Regions from separate parts of the Homo sapiens genome. Here regions 2, 3, 4, 5, 6 and 7 are each linked to region 1. Evidence: promoter capture Hi-C in 16 types of primary human blood cells and fetal thymus (Javierre and others, 2016). All regions are on one chromosome and are shown on one strand. The core of a region is centred on a gene start or on the middle of the fragment in contact, and the rest is flanking DNA. Distances in the headings are between cores, read along the strand shown.

Evidence for each region. The method cuts DNA at HindIII sites, captures the fragments that hold promoters and counts their contacts. A CHiCAGO score of 5 or more calls a contact.
Region 2: a contact is called between a fragment that was not itself captured here and the fragment with the promoter of FRGCA in region 1, in 1 of 17 cell types (endothelial precursors). The highest score is 6.1, in endothelial precursors.
Region 3: a contact is called between a fragment that was not itself captured here and the fragment with the promoter of FRGCA in region 1, in 17 of 17 cell types (naive CD8 T cells, naive CD4 T cells, M2 macrophages and 14 more). The highest score is 19.9, in naive CD8 T cells.
Region 4: a fragment that was not itself captured here is called in contact with the fragment with the promoter of FRGCA in region 1 in 15 of 17 cell types (naive CD8 T cells, M2 macrophages, total CD4 T cells and 12 more); the score reaches 11.7 in naive CD8 T cells.
Region 5: a contact is called between a fragment that was not itself captured here and the fragment with the promoter of FRGCA in region 1, in 9 of 17 cell types (total B cells, naive B cells, total CD8 T cells and 6 more). The highest score is 9.0, in total B cells.
Region 6: a contact is called between a fragment that was not itself captured here and the fragment with the promoter of FRGCA in region 1, in 9 of 17 cell types (naive B cells, total CD8 T cells, naive CD8 T cells and 6 more). The highest score is 10.8, in naive B cells.
Region 7: a contact is called between a fragment that was not itself captured here and the fragment with the promoter of FRGCA in region 1, in 6 of 17 cell types (naive CD8 T cells, naive CD4 T cells, total CD8 T cells and 3 more). The highest score is 8.9, in naive CD8 T cells.

What each region holds. Positions count from the first base shown.
Region 1 is chr21:43,139,803-43,142,502 of GRCh38, reverse strand. FRGCA (FOXM1-regulated, gastric cancer associated) reads left to right here and starts at 1,411. Exons shown (of 2, transcript NR_133677.1): 1 at 1,411-1,541; 2 at 1,690-1,980. All of the region lies in intron 4 of LOC101928369 (a long non-coding RNA gene), which reads right to left. RefSeq lists enhancers at 1-480, 481-1,018. The HindIII fragment of the contact is 22,159 bases long and covers 1-2,700 here.
Region 2 is chr21:43,437,911-43,440,610 of GRCh38, reverse strand. It overlaps LOC124905029 (a long non-coding RNA gene), which reads right to left. Exons shown (of 3, transcript XR_007067891.1): 3 at 1,760-2,700. Among named protein-coding and RNA genes, the nearest start is that of LINC00319, 7.3 kb to the left of the region's middle. The HindIII fragment of the contact is 1,668 bases long and covers 503-2,170 here.
Region 3 is chr21:43,633,984-43,636,683 of GRCh38, reverse strand. All of the region lies in intron 4 of HSF2BP (heat shock transcription factor 2 binding protein), which reads left to right. Among named protein-coding and RNA genes, the nearest start is that of HSF2BP, 24 kb to the left of the region's middle. The HindIII fragment of the contact is 7,109 bases long and covers 1-2,700 here.
Region 4 is chr21:43,614,910-43,617,609 of GRCh38, reverse strand. The region is part of intron 6 of HSF2BP (heat shock transcription factor 2 binding protein); the gene reads left to right. Among named protein-coding and RNA genes, the nearest start is that of MIR6070, 6.3 kb to the right of the region's middle. The HindIII fragment of the contact is 9,663 bases long and covers 1-2,700 here.
Region 5 is chr21:43,559,540-43,562,239 of GRCh38, reverse strand. The region is part of intron 8 of HSF2BP (heat shock transcription factor 2 binding protein); the gene reads left to right. Among named protein-coding and RNA genes, the nearest start is that of H2BC12L, 4.3 kb to the left of the region's middle. The HindIII fragment of the contact is 241 bases long and covers 1,132-1,372 here.
Region 6 is chr21:43,530,385-43,533,084 of GRCh38, reverse strand. All of the region lies in intron 8 of HSF2BP (heat shock transcription factor 2 binding protein), which reads left to right. Among named protein-coding and RNA genes, the nearest start is that of H2BC12L, 33 kb to the left of the region's middle. The HindIII fragment of the contact is 252 bases long and covers 1,302-1,553 here.
Region 7 is chr21:43,581,154-43,583,853 of GRCh38, reverse strand. The region is part of intron 8 of HSF2BP (heat shock transcription factor 2 binding protein); the gene reads left to right. Among named protein-coding and RNA genes, the nearest start is that of H2BC12L, 17 kb to the right of the region's middle. RefSeq lists an enhancer at 1-184. The HindIII fragment of the contact is 4,467 bases long and covers 1-2,700 here.

The DNA.
Region 1 (2,700 bases), core at 162-2,661:
GAGAACTCACTAGCTATCATGAGAACAGCATGGAGGAAACCGCCTCATGATCCAATCGCCTCCCTCCTTCAACACCTGGGGATTACAATTCGAGGTGAGATTTGGGTGGGGACACAGCCTCACCACATCATAGCCATTCTGCCCTCCCTGCCCTGCCCTGCCCTGCCTCCAGGTCTGCCTCCAGACCTGGAGTGTTTCTGAGAGTGGACCCAGCACAGGGAGGAGGTGGCTCAGGACACTCAACTCCTGGTCCAGCTCCCACTCATAGCTGGGGTCCTGGCCGGTGACTCCATCTCCCTTTCTGCTGTCTCCCTGTCTATAAGACAAGGGGCTGGGCCAGCCATCTCAAGGTCCCCTCCAGTTCCATCTTCCCAGGGCTGAGCAGGTCCTGGGCCTTGGCGTCACAGAGCCCAGCTCACAGGCCCACCCGGGAGAGGTATCGGGATGTGTCTTTGCCACATCATAAGTTAGGCAGAAAGATGTGTGGGACGTGGCCCTGCCCCCGGTCAGGACGGTGGACACATGCAAACGCCGCACAGACGCACCCTGCCCTGACACCGCCCGGAGCACCTGGGTGGCTTCCTGAATGGCGAGGCATGGTGGGCACTCATGGGCCTGCCGTGCACCCCACCTGCAGGGCACGTGCCCAGCAGACAGCAAGGGCTGAATGACAGGTGACAGGACGGCCGCCAGGCAGGCGAAGGTGGGGCCAAAGGCAAGGGTGGCTGCTCGGCTGCAGGGCACGGACACTCAGCCTCTATTTCCTCCTGGGGTGGCGAGGGGGGGCGAGGGAGGGGCGAGGGAGGGGCGAGGGGGGGCGAGGGAGGGGTGAGGGAGGGGTGAGGGACGGTCAGACCGGATGTGGCTGTGCTTCAGACCGCGCGGGAAGTCCTGGGATGGCGTGGAGCCCGCTTCAGCTGAAGGGACAGAGGGAGAGGCAGGGGCCAGACAGCGCCAACCACCTGAGACCCAGGCAAGAGACAGTATGGTGGGTGGGGGTACTGCCCAGTAAGGGCTGGGGGAGAGGACTGAGGAAACCCTCCCTCCATCAACGTGCCTGGGAGCCCTGCCAGGTGAGAGCCCTGTTGTTCCTGGATGACTGTGGACCGCTCACTCCGGCCCCTCAGCCCCTACCCAGCCTGCCCCCAGGAGCAGCACGGCTGGGCACCAGCATCTCTCCAGCTGGCAGTTGCCCCACTGGGATCCCCCAAATGCCCTGCAAGCCAAGGTGTGCAAGCCCTGCACACTGAGGGCTGGAGGGCAGCCCCCGTGCTGTGTTCCAGATGGAGGGAGGGGTGGGGAGGGGGGAGCTACACTGGGGAGGGCTGCGCCGGTCACTGCCGAGGAGGGAAAGCCTCAACATCACCCCTCTTACCCCCCATCTCCCGCAGCCTCCCAGCAAGGTTGTGGCCCGCAGCGGACGCTCCCCACGAGGTAGAGCCCCGTTTCCACACCTGGAGCAGCTGCACCTGGAGGTGGGGCTCATCTCCAGACCTGGAGCAGCTGCCTGCCCCAGGGCAGAAGCCACTGCCCGCAGCTAGGTGAGGCCATGTGCCCAGTCCTGGTCAATGGACTGAGCATGAGGGGATGTGTGCCCAGCAGCAGGGACTACTGTGCACTGAAGGCCAGGGCCGCTGGATTGGGACAAATAAATACAGCAGGTCCTCAAATCCCATCGTTTCATTCTAGGGAGCATTGAGGAGGTCTCCCCAGGTCCGCGCGGGTTTTCTCCAGGTCCTCCAGTTTCCTCCCACATCCCAAGTATACACCTCAGCCTCACGGCATGTCTACATGGGCCTAGTCCGAGTGAGTGTGGGTGTCCCATGGAGGCCTGTCCTATCCAGGGCGGGTGCCCACCTTGGCACTGAGCCTCCAGGATGGGCCCTGGTCACCTGCCACTCTGAACTGGAGAAAGCAAGTTGGAAAATGAATGAATACATGAATATAAATTATCAAATAAAAATTATAAAGCCTACGGTAATCACACAAACGCATGACAACAAACGCCGCGTGTGAGGGTGCTCAAGGAGCCGCCATACTCACGGTCGCTTGTCTTTCAGCTGTGCGGTGGGAGGAGGTGCTCCCAAGAGCGTGTGCTTTGCAGACATTGATTCCGTGATTTCACCACCACCACTACCACCGCCGTCACTCACAGACATCCCAAATATTGGGTAGATCATGATCTCACTTGTTTGTATTAATCTTCCTTATGTAGGTGTAGCTACCTCTACATGTAGGGATAGTTTACATTTATTTCAATGTTTAATATTAGAAGTGTTTGGGTCTTTAGAAATTTGGTGGTGTTTTTTGTTTTTTTGTGGGGTTTTTTTGGAAATAGGGTTTTGTTCCGTCGCCCAGGCTGGAGTGTGGTGGTGTGATCACAGCTCACCGCAACCTTAGCCTCTGAGGCTCAAGCAATCCTCCCACCTCAGCCTCCTAAGTAGCTGGGACCACAGGCACACACCACCTTTCCTGGCTAATTTGGGGGGCATTTTTTGTAGAGATGGGGTTTCATCATGTCGCCCAGGCTGGTTTTGAACTCCTTGCCTCAAGAGATCTGCCACCTCAGCCTCCCGAAGTGCTGGGATTACAGGTGTGAGCCACCACACCTGTTCTGGTGATGTTTTGAGAGCAGAAATATGCCTCTTTTTTTTTTTTGAGACAGAGTTTCACACTTATTGCCCAGGCTGGAGTGCGGTG
Region 2 (2,700 bases), core at 87-2,586, 300 kb before region 1:
ATAAACCTGGCCAATGAAGGGCTTGCCTGGGACCGTGGCTGGGACTATCAGGGAAAAGATATGCTTTCTCTGTAGACGGTGAACTAGTAGGATGTTAGCTACCTGTCTTAGTCTGCTTTGTGCAGCTATAACAAAATATCAAGTCTGGGTAATCTATAATGAACAGAGATGTCCTGGGGAGGCTGGGAAGTCCAAGAGCATGGCACTGGCATCTAGTTAGGGCCTTCTTGCTGCGGCATCCCAAGGTGGAAGGCAGAAGGGCAAGAGTGAGAAAGTGAGAGCACACACACACACACACACACACACACACACACACACACACACACAAAGAGAGGGGGAGAGAGAGAGAGAGAGCGCGCAAGATGGGGCCAAACTTGTCCTTTTATAAGGAACGCACTCTTGAGATAATGGTATTAATCCACTTGTGAGGGTCGTACCCCTATGACCCAAGCACCTCCCATTAGGCCCCACCTCCCACCATTGCCATGATGGGGATCAAGCTTCTGACACATGAACTTTGGGGGGCACTTTCAAAGCATAGCACCATCTTTGCTACAAACTGGAATGAGCCTGCCTGAGAACAAAGCCAAGGCAGGGAAGTAGAACTGAGGGATGCTGCTGAAAAAAGGGAATAGAACAGATAAACATTGTGTGAGCCTGGGTCGAGCTCAACCTGAAGCCTGTAGTATCCTGGGCCCTTTAGTTATGTTAACCACCAACTCTCCTTTTAGCTTGAACCAGTTTCAGTTGCATTTCTGCCTCTCACAATAAAGGGAGCCTTGACTGAGACCCACTAATAGAAAATGGAGCAGAAAATAAGAACTGACACTCAAACACAAATGGCCAATGAACATGAAGAGAAGAATCACTTTCCATAAGGAAATCCAAGAAGTGCCCATTACAATAAATGCATGCTATTACGGATTGAACTGTGTCCCCCTACTGAAAGGTATGTTAAGTCCTCACCTCCTGTACCTAAGAACATGGCCTTATTTGGAAATAGGGTGGTTGCAGATTAACTAGTTAGAGTGAGACCATACTGGAGTAGGCTGGGTCCTAAATACAGAATGCCTGGTGTCCTTATAAGAAGAGAGGGAGGCCCCAGGAAAAGCCGGCCCATCTGAAGATGGTGGCGGAGACTGGATGAGGGATCTGTAAGCCAACGACTGACAGGTGTCCCTGAGAACCTCCAGAAGCTGGAAGAGGCATGAAAGGAATCTCGCCAGGAGGCTGAAGAGGGAACATGGCCTTGCCCACACAGATTTCAGACATCTGGCTCCAGAACTGTGGGAGGACACATTTCTGTTGTTTAGAACTGCTTGTTTTTTATACTTTGTTATGGCTGCCCTAGGAAACTAATACAGATATTATTTTCCACTTCTGAACTTAGCAAAATATTTTTAAAATGAAAATTCTTAAATGTTGGCACAGTTTAAGGTCAGGGGTGCCCCAGCAGTTTGGCAACATATATCAAAGGCTTTAAGACACTTTATCCTCTTTCACTTGGTAATTCCATTTTTAAGCCTTTATCCTAGGGAAAAATTTCACATAGGAATTAAGAGTTTTGGGAAAGATGCTCACAATAACACTGTTTATAGTAACGTGTAGAAACAATAATGTCTACAAATAGAAATGTTAAATAAATGGGAATGTTACATGTTAAACATGAGATATTAGATATTAAGAATAATGTATTTAAATTATATATGATACATGGAATTCTCTTTCTACAAATAGAAAGGCTATAAGAGTGTTCATATGGGGTACAATCCAAATTTATTTTTTAAAAATTTACATCTATTCAACTAGAAAAAAATGCACCAAAATACTGAGTGATGATATCTGAGTGGTAGAATTATGAATTATTTCTTATATGTTAGTATTATTATTTTCATATATATTTTTTATAATAATCATATATTCAATTTTATCATCAAGAAAAAAGTTTTAAAATTCCAAATCCTTTCATGTGCACTGTTTTAAACTCAGGTAGAAGAAAAAAAGTCACTGAAAATCCAAGATGTAATAAACAGGCCCAACAAAGGCCAACAAACTTAGTATATATTTGCTGTAATAAAATATTAACCCACTTGTGAGGGTCGTGCCCCTGCGGTCCAAACACCTCCCATGAGACCGCATCTCCCAACACGGCCATGTTGGGGATCAAGCTTCCGACACATGAACTTTGGGGAACACTTTCAAACCACAGTACCATCTTTGCTACAAACTGGAATTTTTAAAAATATATATTTATAAAATATAAATTTGGTAGCACAGATTCAATTATGGGACATGGCCGGGAGCAGTTGCTCATGCCTGTTTCCCAGCACTTTAGGAGGCCGAGACGAGTGGATCACCTGAGGTCAGGAGTTTGAGACCAGCCTGGCCACAATGGGGAAACCCCGTCTCTACTAAAAATACAAAAATTTGCCAGGCATGGTGGCGCGCCTGTAATCCCAGCACTTTGGGAGGCCGAGGCAGGAGAATCGCTTGAACTCGGGAGGTAGAGGTTGCAGTGAGCCAAGATCGTGCCACTGCATTCCAGCCTGGGCAACAAGGGCGAAACTCCATCTCAAAAAAAAAAAAAAAGCCAAAAATATCCCCAGAAAACAATTATGGGACACACTGTTTCTAAGTGACATCTAGGGGCAAAGCAAACACAGCTGCTTTCTAAAGCCCTCCAGGGCGTGGCGCAGCCAC
Region 3 (2,700 bases), core at 190-2,689, 490 kb before region 1:
CTGACCTCAAGTGATCCGCCTGCCTCGGCCTCTCAAAGTGCTGGGATTACCATCGCGCCCGGACACATTTATATGTTTTCTTTGGTTAAATATCTCTTCAAATCTTTTGCCCATTTTTAATTGGGTTGTCTTATTGATGTGTAAGAATTCTTTAATCTGGACACAAGTCCTTTTTTAGATATGTGATTAGAAGTACTTTCTCTTAGCCTGTGGCGTGTCTTTTTACTTTCTTTATAAGGTATCTTTTGAAGAGTAGAACTTTTAAGTTTTGATGAAACTTACTTTATTATTATTTTTTAATAGGTCATGATTTTGTGATATCTAAGAAATATTTGCCTAACCTATGGTCATAACGATTTTTTTGAGAAATTTTACATTTATGTTTATGATTCTCTTTTTTTCCCCTTCGTTTTTTCTTTTCTTTTCTTTTCTTTTCTTTTCTTTTCTTTTCTTTTCTTTTCTTTTCTTTTCTTTTCTTTCTTTTTTTTCTTTCTTGAGATGGTGTCTTGCTCTGTCACCTAGGCTGGAGTGTAGTGGTGTGATCATGGCTCACTTCAGCTTCGACCTTCCAGGCTCAAGTGATCCTACTTCAGCCTCACCATGCCTGGCTATTTAAAAAAAATTTTTTTTTTTTTTTGTAGAGATGGGGTCTCACTATGGTGCCCAGGATGGTCTCGATCCTCCCGTCTCAGCCTCCCAAGGTACAATTAGCCACTGTGCCTGGCCTATGATTCTGTTTTTTTTTTTTTTTTTTTGAGATGGAGTCTCGCTCTGTCACCCAGGCTGGAGTGCAGTGGCACGATCTCGGCTCACTGCAGTCGCCCCCTCCTGGGTTCAAGCGATTCTCCTGCCTCAGCCTCCCGAGTAGGTGGGATTATAGGTGGGATTACAGGCCCGTGCCACCATGCTCAACTAACTTTTGTATTTTTAGTAGAGACGGGGTTTTACCATGTTGGTCAGGCTAGTCTTGAACTCCTGACCTCAAGCAATCCACCCACCTCAGCCTCCCAGAATGCTAGGATTGTAGGTGTGAGCCACCGCACCCGGCCCTATGATTCATTTTGAATTATTTTTTTTTTGCATATGAATATTCGGTTGTTTTAGCATCAGTTGTTGAAAAGACTATCCTTTTTCCATTGAATTGCATTGGCACCTTTGTTAAAATCAGTTGACATGTCAGTGTTTCACTGATCTATATGTCCATCCTTATAGCAATACCACAATGGTTCTATTTCGGTAGGTTTATAGTTAGTTTTTTCCTCTAAATCAGGCACTGTTAGTCTTCTAACATTGTTCTTCTTTTTCAGACAATTTTTTAGATATTCTGTCTTGAATTTCCATAGAAATTTTAGAATCAGATTATCACTTTGTACAGAAGTCTGCTGAGATTTTGATAGGGATTGTGTTGAATCTGTAGATCAGTTTGGGAAGAATTGACATCCTGCCAATTTTTGAACATGGTGTATCTCTTTATTTAGCTCTACTTTCTCTCAGTAATGCTTTGTAGTTTTCATTGTATAGGTCTTGCACCTTAAAAAATTATTCTTATTTTTGATGTTACTGGGAATGCTATGATTTTCTTTGAGGTTTGTTTGTTTTTTTTTTGATATTATTATACTATGTGTGGAACCCTGCGTTGGGGAATATCCTCCTGCAACTACCAAATGTGACTGTAGTGAGCAAAGTCCTTCCTGGTTCTTCTCAGTAGTCTTTTTGTGGTCGTGCAGAAGAACCACCATATCCTGACTAATTGAGATGCAGACAGCTTAAGTTGTGAGAAAAGCTAGAATTCCAAAAGGAAGTGCTGTGACATAGTTTTCTTCATGTGTCACCATGACTTGTGTTCAGCTACGTACACTGAAAGGATGAATCTAGGAGTCCAGATTGTTGCTATAATGAAGACATTAAAAACCCGGAGCTGACAGATCACATGATGCAGTATTAGCATGTGCCAGAGGCTCAGTGGCCATTTTTTTCTTAAATACATGTGTGCATATACGTATGAATGTGTATGAATCTCTGTGTGCCAAACGCATTGTCTCCAGGTAACTATGAGTGGGCCACCCTAATCCAAGTTATGAGGTCAACAGTTTTGATTTGTGGCTCCAAAGCTCCCTTTTTCCTCCAGGGGGTGAAAAGCCCCCTCTACTTTGTCTTGTATTTATCTCTCTAAAAGAAAATCTACAGCATTTAATATACTTTAATTTTGTGGTTTATGTAACTAATTACATTTGGTATAAATGAATTTAACTGGGGTTTTATATTTTTCAGTTTTTGTCTTATTAAATCAGGAAATGCTATCACCTTTTAAGGGAATTTCAGGTACCTGGTGCTGGTGGTTGGAGAGGACAGGAAGCCCCCCATCACTCTAGCAGTACACTCAAGGTGAATCCTCGAAGTGTGCTTGTGTTGTCAGGAGGGCCATCAGGACGGCCATTCCCTGTGTTTCCCTTGTGAAGAGTGCCATGGTGGAGACTTGCCCAGCTACAGGTCACCTCAGACACTGCTGGTGGGAGAGTAGGAAACTCTTCCTAGCCTCCATCTTCTTCTTAGACTGGCACTGGCTTGCTGCACCAGGGCATGAATAGGACTCCCAGCCTTCACACTTCTTTTTGCCCCTCCTCCCATCTTTCCTACCTGGTCTTAGGTTTTAGGTTTTCTTTCCCTGTTTAGCTTCACAGATTGTATTTTATATTTACT
Region 4 (2,700 bases), core at 188-2,687, 480 kb before region 1:
GAAAAATGAACCTAGAAAAATCATTTTAACAGAAAAATTAACTGGCAGTTTTTTAGTTTTGGTAGATGGTAACAAAGTCAATTCTGTAGGCCTTGAATTGACTCACAGGCATTCTAGATAGATTAAATATCAGTAAGCAAAGTACAAATTACCATGTAAAACAAAGAAATTCCAACAGATTGACAAATACTGAAGCTGTGTAGGAATTTATTCACATTTATTTTACTTTGTAGTTCATGTTTTAGTGATATTTAATGAAATGCAGCATTGGCATTTGCAGTTAAAATACTAGATATATGATACAGACTTCATTTACCAGTACATTTGTTGTGTTGGGCATTGTTGCTTGCTATGAGATACATATATATATATTTTTTTTCTTCAGCGATGTATTAGTAATGTTTCTATTTTCTATTGCTGTGTAACAAACCTCCTCAAAATATAAAGTCTTAACATTTATCTTGCTCGTGGGTCTACAGTTTGGTCAGGCTTGGCAGGGACAGTTTGCTGCTTCTGCTCTCCAACATCTGGGGCCTTAGCTGGGATGACTCAAATCGTTGAGGGATGGAACAGCTGGGGGCTAGTGGGGTGTCTTTCTCTCTCTTCTTTCCTCATAGAGTCTCAAGGCTTCTTCACTGTGCTATTTCTTATCCTTTTTTTCCTTTTTTCTTTTTTTTTTGAGATGGAGTCTTGCTCTATCACCCAGGCTGGAGTGCAATGGTGTGATCTCAGCTCACTGCAAACTCTGCCTCCCAGGTTCACACCATTCTCCTGCCTCAGCATCTGGAGTAGCTGGGACTACAGGCACCTGCCACCGCGCCCGGCTAATTTTTTGTATTTTTAGTAGAGACGGTTTCATCATGTTAGCCAGGATGATCTTGATCTCCAGACCGCGTGATCCGCCCACCTCGGCCTCCCAAAGTGCTGGGATTACAGGCGTGAGCCACCGTGTTTTTTCTTTTTTTTAAAGACAGAGTTTCGCTCTGTCTCCTAGGCTGGAGTGCAGTAGTGCAATCTCGGCTTACTGCAGCATCCACCTCCTGGGTTCAAATGATTCTCCTGCCTTAGCCTCCCAAGTAACTAGGATTACGGGTGTAAGCCACGACGCCTGGCTAATTTCGTATTTTTAGTAGAGACAGGGTTTTGCCATGTTGGCCAGGCTCATCTCAAACTCCTGACCTCAGGTGATTCACCCACCTTGGCCTTCCAAAGTGCTGGGATTACTGGCGTGAGCCACCACATCTGGCCTTCACTGTGCTATTTCTGTGTGGTCTCTTCATCATGGCAGCCTTAGGGTAGCTGGACTCTTTCATAGTGACTCAGGGATCCTAGAGCAAGTGGCAGGAGACCAAAGTGGAAATCTTAAGGCTTCTTCCTGTCCATCCTTGGAAGGCTCATGGTGTGCATTCTGCTGCGTTCTACTTGTTACAAGTGAGTCGCAGTGTAGGTGACTACTCAAGGGTCTGAACATGAGGCCAGGCCCACCTGGTAGCCATCTCTGGAGTCAGGCTACCAAATAGTTCTATGTTGCTTGCTATGATATATATATATATATATTTTTTTTTTTTCTTCAGCGATGTATTAGTAATGTTTCTATTTTCTATTGCTGTGTAACAAACCTCCTCAAAATATAAAGTCTTAACATTTATCTTGATCATGGGTCTACAGTTTGGTCAGGTTTGGCAGGGACAGTTTGCTGTTGCTGCTCTCCAACATCTGGGTTTCTGCTGGGTTTCAGTATATTATCTGAAGTTATTTACATGAATAATGCTTTCCCCTGAAAAGCTACCTAAAAGCTATCTTTTATGTGTTTCTGATGCCAAATGCTTACTTGCTTTGTTTTTCTCCTAAAATATTTCCTTAGTAAAACTAGAATGTGTCATATTCTGGAAAATGTACCTATCAGGTTAAAATTCATTGACCAAAGAAGGTAAGTTTATGTCATTGAAAGGTTCTGTCAATAAAGTTATGGCTGTCATCAAAGCGTGTACTTGAAGACACTGCACCAATGATATAGTTAAAATGCTGCAAAGACAAGTAGAAAGGGGGAAACATCTGTTAGGTTTAGTAGACTTTACTATCCCTCTTGTGGTCCATCTGAGACCAGGTGAACAAAAGTAAATAGTAATGTCAAAGATCTGAGTTCATGAAGCTGGCCGGGTAACATGAAATTTTATATTCTGCCATCAGATTACATCCAGTCAAAGGCAGAAGAAATAAGTGATAAAATTCAGCTTCCATTTTTGATAATTCTTAGCAAGCCAAAAATAGAAGAAGACTTCTTTAAACTGATAAAGGGTATCTACCAGAAACAGATCAGACATCACACTTAACTGTGAATTTTTAGAAGCGTTTCCATTAAAATCAGGAGCAAGGCAGTGCTGCTGCCCCATCTCTTTTCCACCTTGGTCTCGTCATTTGGCTTAGAAATCTTAGTCAGTTTGAATCATGCTTTACTGTCAGACCCAACTAAAGAAAACTCTTAACAAACACATACATAAATGCACTTGGATCATTGGATACTTCGAGGTATTTGGAAATGTTGATGGAGCCAGTAATGGCTGCAGCACTGCCCATTGGGAGCAGTGTAATTACTCGGTCTGGTCTTCAGGCCGATTCGCAGGGCCTCAGGCATGAAGAAATGGGATACTTGCTGTTCCACAATGGGACATAAAATTGAGAAAATAAGTTTTCTTCAAA
Region 5 (2,700 bases), core at 3-2,502, 420 kb before region 1:
TGAGTATTATTTATATGTATTGAGAACATTTCACATACTTCTAGCTACTTTGAAATACAGTATACATTGTTGTTAACTATCATCACCCTACTCTACTCTCAAACATTAGTACTTACACCTTCTATCTGACTGTGTTTGTATTGACCAACCTCTCTCATCCCCACTTCAACCCACAGACCCTTCCCAGCCTCTGCTATCAGTCACTCTACTCTCAACCTTCATGAGATCCACTTTTTAGTTTCCACATATGAGTGAGAACATGCAAAATTTGTCTTTCTGTGTCTGGCTTATTTCGCTTAATGACCTGCAGTTCTATCCATGTTGCTGCAAATGACATAATTTCATTCTTTTCTAAGCCTGAACAGTATTCCACTGTGTATATATACCACATTTTCTTTATCCATTCACCTGTTGACAGACATTTGTAGGTTGATTTTGTCTCTTGTCTATTAGGAACAGTGCTGCAATAAACATGGGGGTATCCCTTTGATATATTGATTACTTTTCCTTTGGATAAATATCCAGAAGTGGAATTGCTAGATCACGTGGTAGTTCTATTTCTAGTTTCTTGAGAAATCTCCATACTGTTTTCTGTAGTGGCTATTCTAATTTACATGCCTATCAACAATGTGTAAAAGTTCCCTTTTCTCCACATCCTCGCCAGCATCTGTTTTTTGTCTTTTTAGTGATAGCCATTCTAACTGGGTAAGATGATATCTCATTGTGATTTCAGTTTGCATTTCCCTGATGATTAGTGGTTTTTTTTTGTATACTTATTGACCATTTGTATGGCTTATTTTGAGGAATATCTGTTCAAATCTTTTGCTCACTTTTTAATGGGATTATTTGTTCTTTTATTTGAGTTGTTTGAGTTCCTTTTAGATAGATCCCCTTGTCAGAGGAATAGTTTGCAAATAGTTTCTCCCATTCAGCACATTGTCTCTTCATTCTGTTGTTTCTTTTGCTGTGCAGAAGGTTTTTAGTTCAATATAGTCTCATTTGTCTATTTTTGTTTGTTGTCTGTGCTTTCAAGGTCTTAGCTATAAAATATTTGCCTGTACCAAATGTCCTGAAGTGTATTCCCTATATTTTCTTCTAGTAGTTTTTAGTTTTGGGTCTAACATTTAAGCTTCAATCCATCTTGAGTTGCTTTTTAAATATTTGGTGAGAGATAGGGATCGAATTTCATTCTTCTGCATATGGATATCCAATTTTCCCAGCACCATTTATCAAAGAGACTGTCCTTCCCCCAAGGTATATTCTTGCACCTCTGTTGTAAATACGTGGATTTATTTCTAGATTCTGGATTCTGTTCCATTGGTGTGTGTGTCTGTTTTTATACCAGTACCATGCTGTTTCGGTTACTAAAGCTTTGTAATCTGTTTTGAAGTCAGGTAATATGATGCCTCTTGCTTTTTTCTTTTTCTTTTCTTTTTTCTTTTTTTTTGCTCACAATTGCATTGGCTATTTGGATTCTTTTGGTTCCATGCAAATTTTAAGATTTTTTTTCAATTTCTGTGAAAAATGACATTGGTATTTTGATAGAGATTGCGTTGAATCTGTAGATGGCTTTGGGCAGTATGATTATTTTGAGGCTATTAATTCTTCCAGTCTTTGAACATGGGATGTCTTTTTGTTTATGTCCTGTTTAATTTCTTTCTTCTGTGTTTTGTCATTTTCCTTGTAGAGATCTTTCGCCTCCTAGGATAAATTTATTCCTAGGTATTTTAATTTTTTGGTAGCTGTTGTAAATGCGACTTCATTCTTTATTTCTTTCTCAGCTTGTTCATTGTTGGTGTATAGAAACACTGTTGATTTTTGTATATTGATTTTGTATCCTGCAGCTTCACTGGATTTATCAGTTCTAACAGTTTTTTGGTGGACTCTAGATTTTTCTAGGTAGAAGATCATATCTTTAGCAAAGAAGGACAGTTTGACTTCTTCTTTTCCAATTTTGCTGCCTTTTATTTATTTATCTTGTCTGATTGCTCTGGCTAGGTCTTCCAGTACTATGTTGGATAGGAGTGGTGAAAGTGGGCATCTTGTCTTGTTGCAGTTCTTGGCTGAAAGGATTTCAGCATTTCTCATTTAGTATGATGTTAGCTGTGGATTTGTCACACGTGGCCTTTATTTTGTTGAGGTATATTCCTTCTATCCTTAGTTTTTTTAAGGTTTTTATCATAAAAGGATGTTGAATTTTACCAAATGCTTTTTTAGCATCTGTTGAATGATCATATGGTTTTGTCGTTTGTTCTGTTGATGTAATGTATCATGTTTATTGATTTGCATATGTTGAACCATCCTTGAATCCCTGGGATAAGTTAAGTTCCATTTGATAATGATGTGTTATTTTTCTGATGTGCCGTTGGATTTAGTTTGCTAGTATTTTGCTGAGAATTTCTAAGTCTATATTCATTAGGAATGTTAGCCTATAATTGTCTTTTCTTTTCTTTTTTTTTTTGTGTTGTTGTTGTTTGAGATGGAGTCTTGCTCTGTCACCCAGGCTGGAGTGTAGTGGCGTGATCTCGGCTCACTGCAACCTCTGCCTCCCAGGTTCAAGCAATTCTTCTGCCTCAGCCTTCCAAGTAGCTGGGATTACAGATGCATGCCACCATGCCTGGCTAATTTTTGTATTTTTAGTAGAGACGGGGTTTCACCATGTTGGCCAGGCTGGTCTTGAATTCCTGACCTCATGATCCA
Region 6 (2,700 bases), core at 178-2,677, 390 kb before region 1:
CAACCTCTGCTTCCTGGGTTCAAGGGATTCTCCTGCCTCAGCCTCCTGAGTACCTGGGATTACAGGCGTGCGCCACCACACCCAGCTAATTGTTATATTTTTAGTAGAGATGGGGTTTCACTATGTTGGCCAGGCTGTTCTCAAACTCCTGACCTCGTGATCCGCCCGCCTTGGCCTCCCAAAGTGCTGGGATTACAGGTGTGAGCCACTGCGCCTGGCCTCCATTGCCTCTTCATTGTAATTTTTGATTTCAGTGTTGGACATTGTGTGGAGGGCAGTAGGCAAGGTCAAAAAACTTTTTCTGTAATGGGCCAAATAAATATTTTGAGTTTTGAGAGCCACGTGTAGTCCCTGTTGCATGTTATTCTTCTGGTTTTTACTTTTAAAAAATTACCCTTAAAAAATGTAAAACCTGGCAGGCTGCAATGGTTCATGCCTCTAATTCTGGCCCTTTGGGAGACTGAGGTGGAAGGATTGCTTGAGCCCAGGGGTTTGATACCAGCCTGGGCAGTGTGGTGAGACACCGTCTCTACAAAAAAATGTGAAAAATTAACTGGGCGTGGCCACATGTTCTGTGGTCCCTCTTTCTTGGGAGGCCGAGGTGGGAGGATGGCTTGAGCCCAGGAGATTGAGACTGCAGTGAGCCATGATTGTACCAGAGTACTCCAGCCTGGGAGACAGAGCAAGACCCTGTCTCCAAAAGGAGGAGGAGGAGGGGGGGGGGAGGAGGAGGTGGTGGAGGAGGAGAGGAGGGGGGGGGAGGAGGAGGAGGAGGAGGAGGAAAGAAGAAGAAGAAGAAGAAAAAAAAAGTAAAACCATTCTTAGCTTGCAGGCTGTACAGAAACGGGTCATGGGCTACCTTTGGCCTCTGGGCCATGCGTACCCTCTCTGTAGAGGGGAATGAGGTGGGTAGATAGTGTTATATTCAGGAATGGCCACTCCTCTTTTTCCGCTGGGTTTTCATTGTTGGGGAGTTAAGGTGGGTCTGGGTTTTGTTGTTGTGTATGTACCTTCCATCCCACTGGCTTCAAATTCCTCTAACCTTTCCTTGAGCTTAGGATGAGGGCTGAGTTGCCAAAGCGTCTTCACCCATGGCTTTTGGCCTTGCCTCTGTGTCTGCCTTAGCTGCCCCTTATCTTTGGCAGGTCTCTACTAGAGAAAGTTCCCCTCCCTTCCCCCAAAGTAGGAGGACTCTAACAGGCTGGCTTAAGATGGCTCCTGGACCCTCCCTGAGGGCTAGAGCAGATTGCCTTTTATCTTCCCTGGCCACAGCAGTCTTCTGATTCTGTAGGTGAGAAGCTTCTTGTTAGGGCTTAGTGCTGTGGCAGCTCCCACTGAGAGACTGTTCAGTCTGCTCTTTCAGTCTACATCTTAAAAGGTTTTTTTTTAATTTTTTTATTTGTTAAGTAAATGTGCTAAGAAAGAGGTGCTGATTTTGAGCCTGGTTCCAGTTGCAGTACCCAGTCAAGGAGTGAATTTACGGCATCGTAAAGGCTGCCAGTAGAGAGGAATGGTAAGGAAAGTTGGCTCCACTCTGGTGATGGATTGAAGCTTCCAGTGGGTTTGTCTAGCTATTTTTTAGTGGTTGCTACAATGTATGCAAGGCTACCAGATTCTATAAGTCCTGGGGCCATTCCCATGGAAAATAAACAACGTGAATTTTATATACCCAGTGACATTGTGTAAACTCAGTGGCCCTGATAAGTGCTGTATCTGTATGTGGTCCCTGAGGGATTTGCTGCAATTGGAGTGAAAAAGAAGTAATACTTTTTAAAACAATCTTATAAGTGGACAGAATGCTACTGTCGACAAAGAGTCAAACTCTGCAAAATATTTGAAGAGATTTGTTCTGAGCCAAATATGAGTGAGGTCCTGAGAACATGTGCCCAAGGTAGTTGGGTGCGGCTTGGCTTTATACATTTTAGAGAGGTGTGAGACATCAATCAAAAACATTTAAGAAATACATTGGTTTGGTCCAGAAAAGTGGGACAAAGCTGGGGGGCGTGGGGCTTCCAGGCTATAGGTGAATTTAAACATTTTCTGATTGATAAAGACCTGGGATTGATAGAAAGGGAATGTTCAGGTTAAGGTAAAGATTGTGGACATCCAAGTTCTTTTGAAGTCTTATGGTGGCTGCCTTAGAGACAATAGATGACAGATGTTTCCTATTCAGATCTTAGTTAATCTCTTTAGGATTAGGAGGGTCTCGAAGAAAAAGATCTAGCTATGTTAGTAGAGATTCTTTACAAATGCAGATTTTCCCCCACAAAGAACAGCTTTGCAGGGCCATTTCAAAATATGGCAAAGAAACATATTTTGGGGTAAAGTATTTTTATTTTCTTTCTTGTCTCATAATGTTATGCCAGAGTCAGGTTGGAAAGTCATGATATATAGGGTTAAATAAAACCCATCTGATGAGAATTTGTGATTTGTAGGACATGACTCCCCAGACCCCTTAGATAGGAATTTGGGCAAGATAAAAAAAATCAGAGTTTAGTCCTCACTAGCAAACAGAGAAAGCCCTCATCTTTCTAGTTTAACACTTTAAAATTGTATGACTGTAATATTTGAAGATGATGGTTATTAGACTATTGAGTTTTTTGATGCTGCTTTTATGAGCTAAGCTTTTATATCAAGCAGTGACTGTGTTTCTGGGTTATCCTGTAGTTTTCTAAACTGTCAAACGTGTTATTCAGAAAG
Region 7 (2,700 bases), core at 191-2,690, 440 kb before region 1:
TCTCCTTCGGCAGGTCCTCATCTCCCTCAGCAGGCCCTTCATCTCTCTCAGCAGGTCCTCATCTCCCTCAGCAGGCCCTTCATCTCCCTCAGCAGGCCCTTCATCTCCCTCGGCAGGTCCTCATCTCCCTTAGCAGGTTTTCATATCTCCCTCAGCAGGCCCTTCATCTCTCTCAGCAGGTCCTCATCTCCCTCAGCAGGTCCTTCATCTCCCTCAGCAGGTCTTCATCTCCCTCAGCAGTCCCTTCATCTCCCTCAGGAGGTCCTCATCTCCCTCAGCAGGTCTTCATCTCCCTCAGCAGGTCCTCATCTCCCTCAGCAGGCCCTTCATCTCCCTCAGGCCCTTCATCTCTCTCAGCAGGTCCTCATCTCCCTCAGCAGGCCTTCATCTCCCTCAGCAGGCCTTCATCTCCCTCAGCAGGTCCTCATCTCCCTCAGCAGGCCCTTCATCTCCCTCAGCAGGCCCTTCATCTCCCTCAGCTGGCCCTCATCTCCCTCAACAGGTACTCATCTCCCGCAGCAGGCCCTCATCCCCCTCACCAGGCCCTCATCCCCCACAGCAGGTCTTCATCTCCCTCAGCAGGCCCTTCATCTCCCTCAGCAGGCCTTCATCTCCTTCAGCAGGCCTTCATCTCCCTCAGCAGGTCCTCATCTCCCTCAGCAGGTCCTCATCTCCCTCAGCAGGTCCTCATCTCCCTCAGCAGGCCCTTCATCTCCCTCAGCAGGCCCTTCATCTCCCTCAGCAGGCCTTCATCTCCTTCAGCAGGCCTTCATCTCCCTCAGCAGGTCCTCATCTCCCTCAGCAGGTCCTCATCTCCCTCAGCAGGCCCTTCATCTCCCTCAGGCCCTTCATCTCTCTCAGCAGGTCCTCATCTCCCTCAGCAGGCCTTCATCTCCCTCAGCAGGCCTTCATCTCCCTCAGCAGGTCCTCATCTCCCTCAGCAGGCCCTTCATCTCCCTCAGCAGGCCCTTCATCTCCCTCAGCTGGCCCTCATCTCCCTCAACAGGTACTCATCTCCCGCAGCAGGCCCTCATCCCCCTCACCAGGCCCTCATCCCCCACAGCAGATCTTCATCTCCCTCAGCAGGCCCTTCATCTCCCTCAGCAGGCCTTCATCTCCTTCAGCAGGCCTTCATCTCCCTCAGCAGGTCCTCATCTCCCTCAGCAGGTCCTCATCTCCCTCAGCAGGTCCTCATCTCCCTCAGCAGGCCCTTCATCTCCCTCAGCAGGCCCTTCATCTCCCTCAGCAGGCCTTCATCTCCTTCAGCAGGCCTTCATCTCCCTCAGCAGGTCCTCATCTCCCTCAGCAGGTCCTCATCTCCCTCAGCAGGCCCTTCATCTCCCTCAGCAGGCCCTTCATCTCCCTCAGCAGGCCCTTCATCTCCCTCAGCCGGCCCTCATCTCCCTCAACAGGTACTCATCTCCCGCAACAGGCCCTCATCTCCTGCAGCAGGCCCTCATCCCCCTCACCAGGCCCTCATCCCCCACAGCAGGTCTTCATCTCCCTCAGCCGGCCCTCATCTCCCGCAACAGGCCCTTATCTCCCACAGCAGGTCTTCATCCCCCTCAGCAGGCCTTCATCCCCCTCAGCAGGCACTCATCTCCCTCAGCAGGCCCTCATCCCCCACAGCAGGCCCTCATCCCCCACAGCAGGCCCTCATCTCCCACAGCAGGCCCTCATCCCCCACAGCAGGGCCTCATTCCCCACAGCAGGCCCTCATCCCCCACAGCAGGGCCTCATTCCCCACAGCAGGCCCTCATCTCCCACAGCAGGCCCTCATCTCCCACAGCAGGCCCTCATCCCCCACAACAGGGCCCCTCAGCAGGCCCTCATCCCCCACAGCAGGCACTCATCTCCCACAGCAGGCCCTCATCCCCCACAGCAGGCCCTCATCTCCCACAGCAGACCCTCATCCCCCACGGCAGGCCCTCATCTCCCACAGCAGGGCCTCATTCCCCACAGCAGGCCCTCATCCCCCACAGCAGGGCCCCTCAGCAGGCCCTCATCTCCCTCAGCAGGCCCTCATCTCCCGCAGCACAGACCCTTCTGACCACTGGCTAAGGTGAGACTTGGCAGTGCCAGCTATATGGCTGTGGCCACAGCAGTGATTTTAGTGGTGGGTGTGTGCTCTGAGCTGGGCCATAGTCTTTCTCCAGGAGTTTTCTGGCTTCAGCTGCTGAAGAACAGTGTTTTTTTTGCCTTTCTTGGGCCGTGAAACTATTGGATGTGACTCTAGAGCTGCCTGTGGCCGTGTTCCTGGCCACCTGGAGAAAATTTATCTGTGTTGTCAGTTGCTGAAGCCAAGACATAAATGCTGACCTGAGATGCAGAGGAGCCCTATGGCTTGCAGTCAGCTTTATCCCTGTCCAGGTGGGCTGTATAGCTTTTCCTCAGATTTTGAGTTATCCCAGCATCTTTCATAAGTGACTCCTTTTATCCTTCTTTCTTTTCTTTCTTTTTTTTTTTTTGAGACAGAGTCTCACTCTGCCACCCAGGCTGGAGTTCAGAGGCGTGATCTTGGCTCACTGCAAGCCCTGCCTCCCAGGTTCACGCCATTCTTCTGCCTCAGCCTCCCAAGTAGCTGGGACTACAGGCACCTGCCACCACGCCCGGCTAATTTTTCGTATTTTTAGTAGAGACAGGGTTTCACCGTGTTAGCCAGGATGGTCTCGATCTCCTGACCTCGTGATCCGCCCGCCT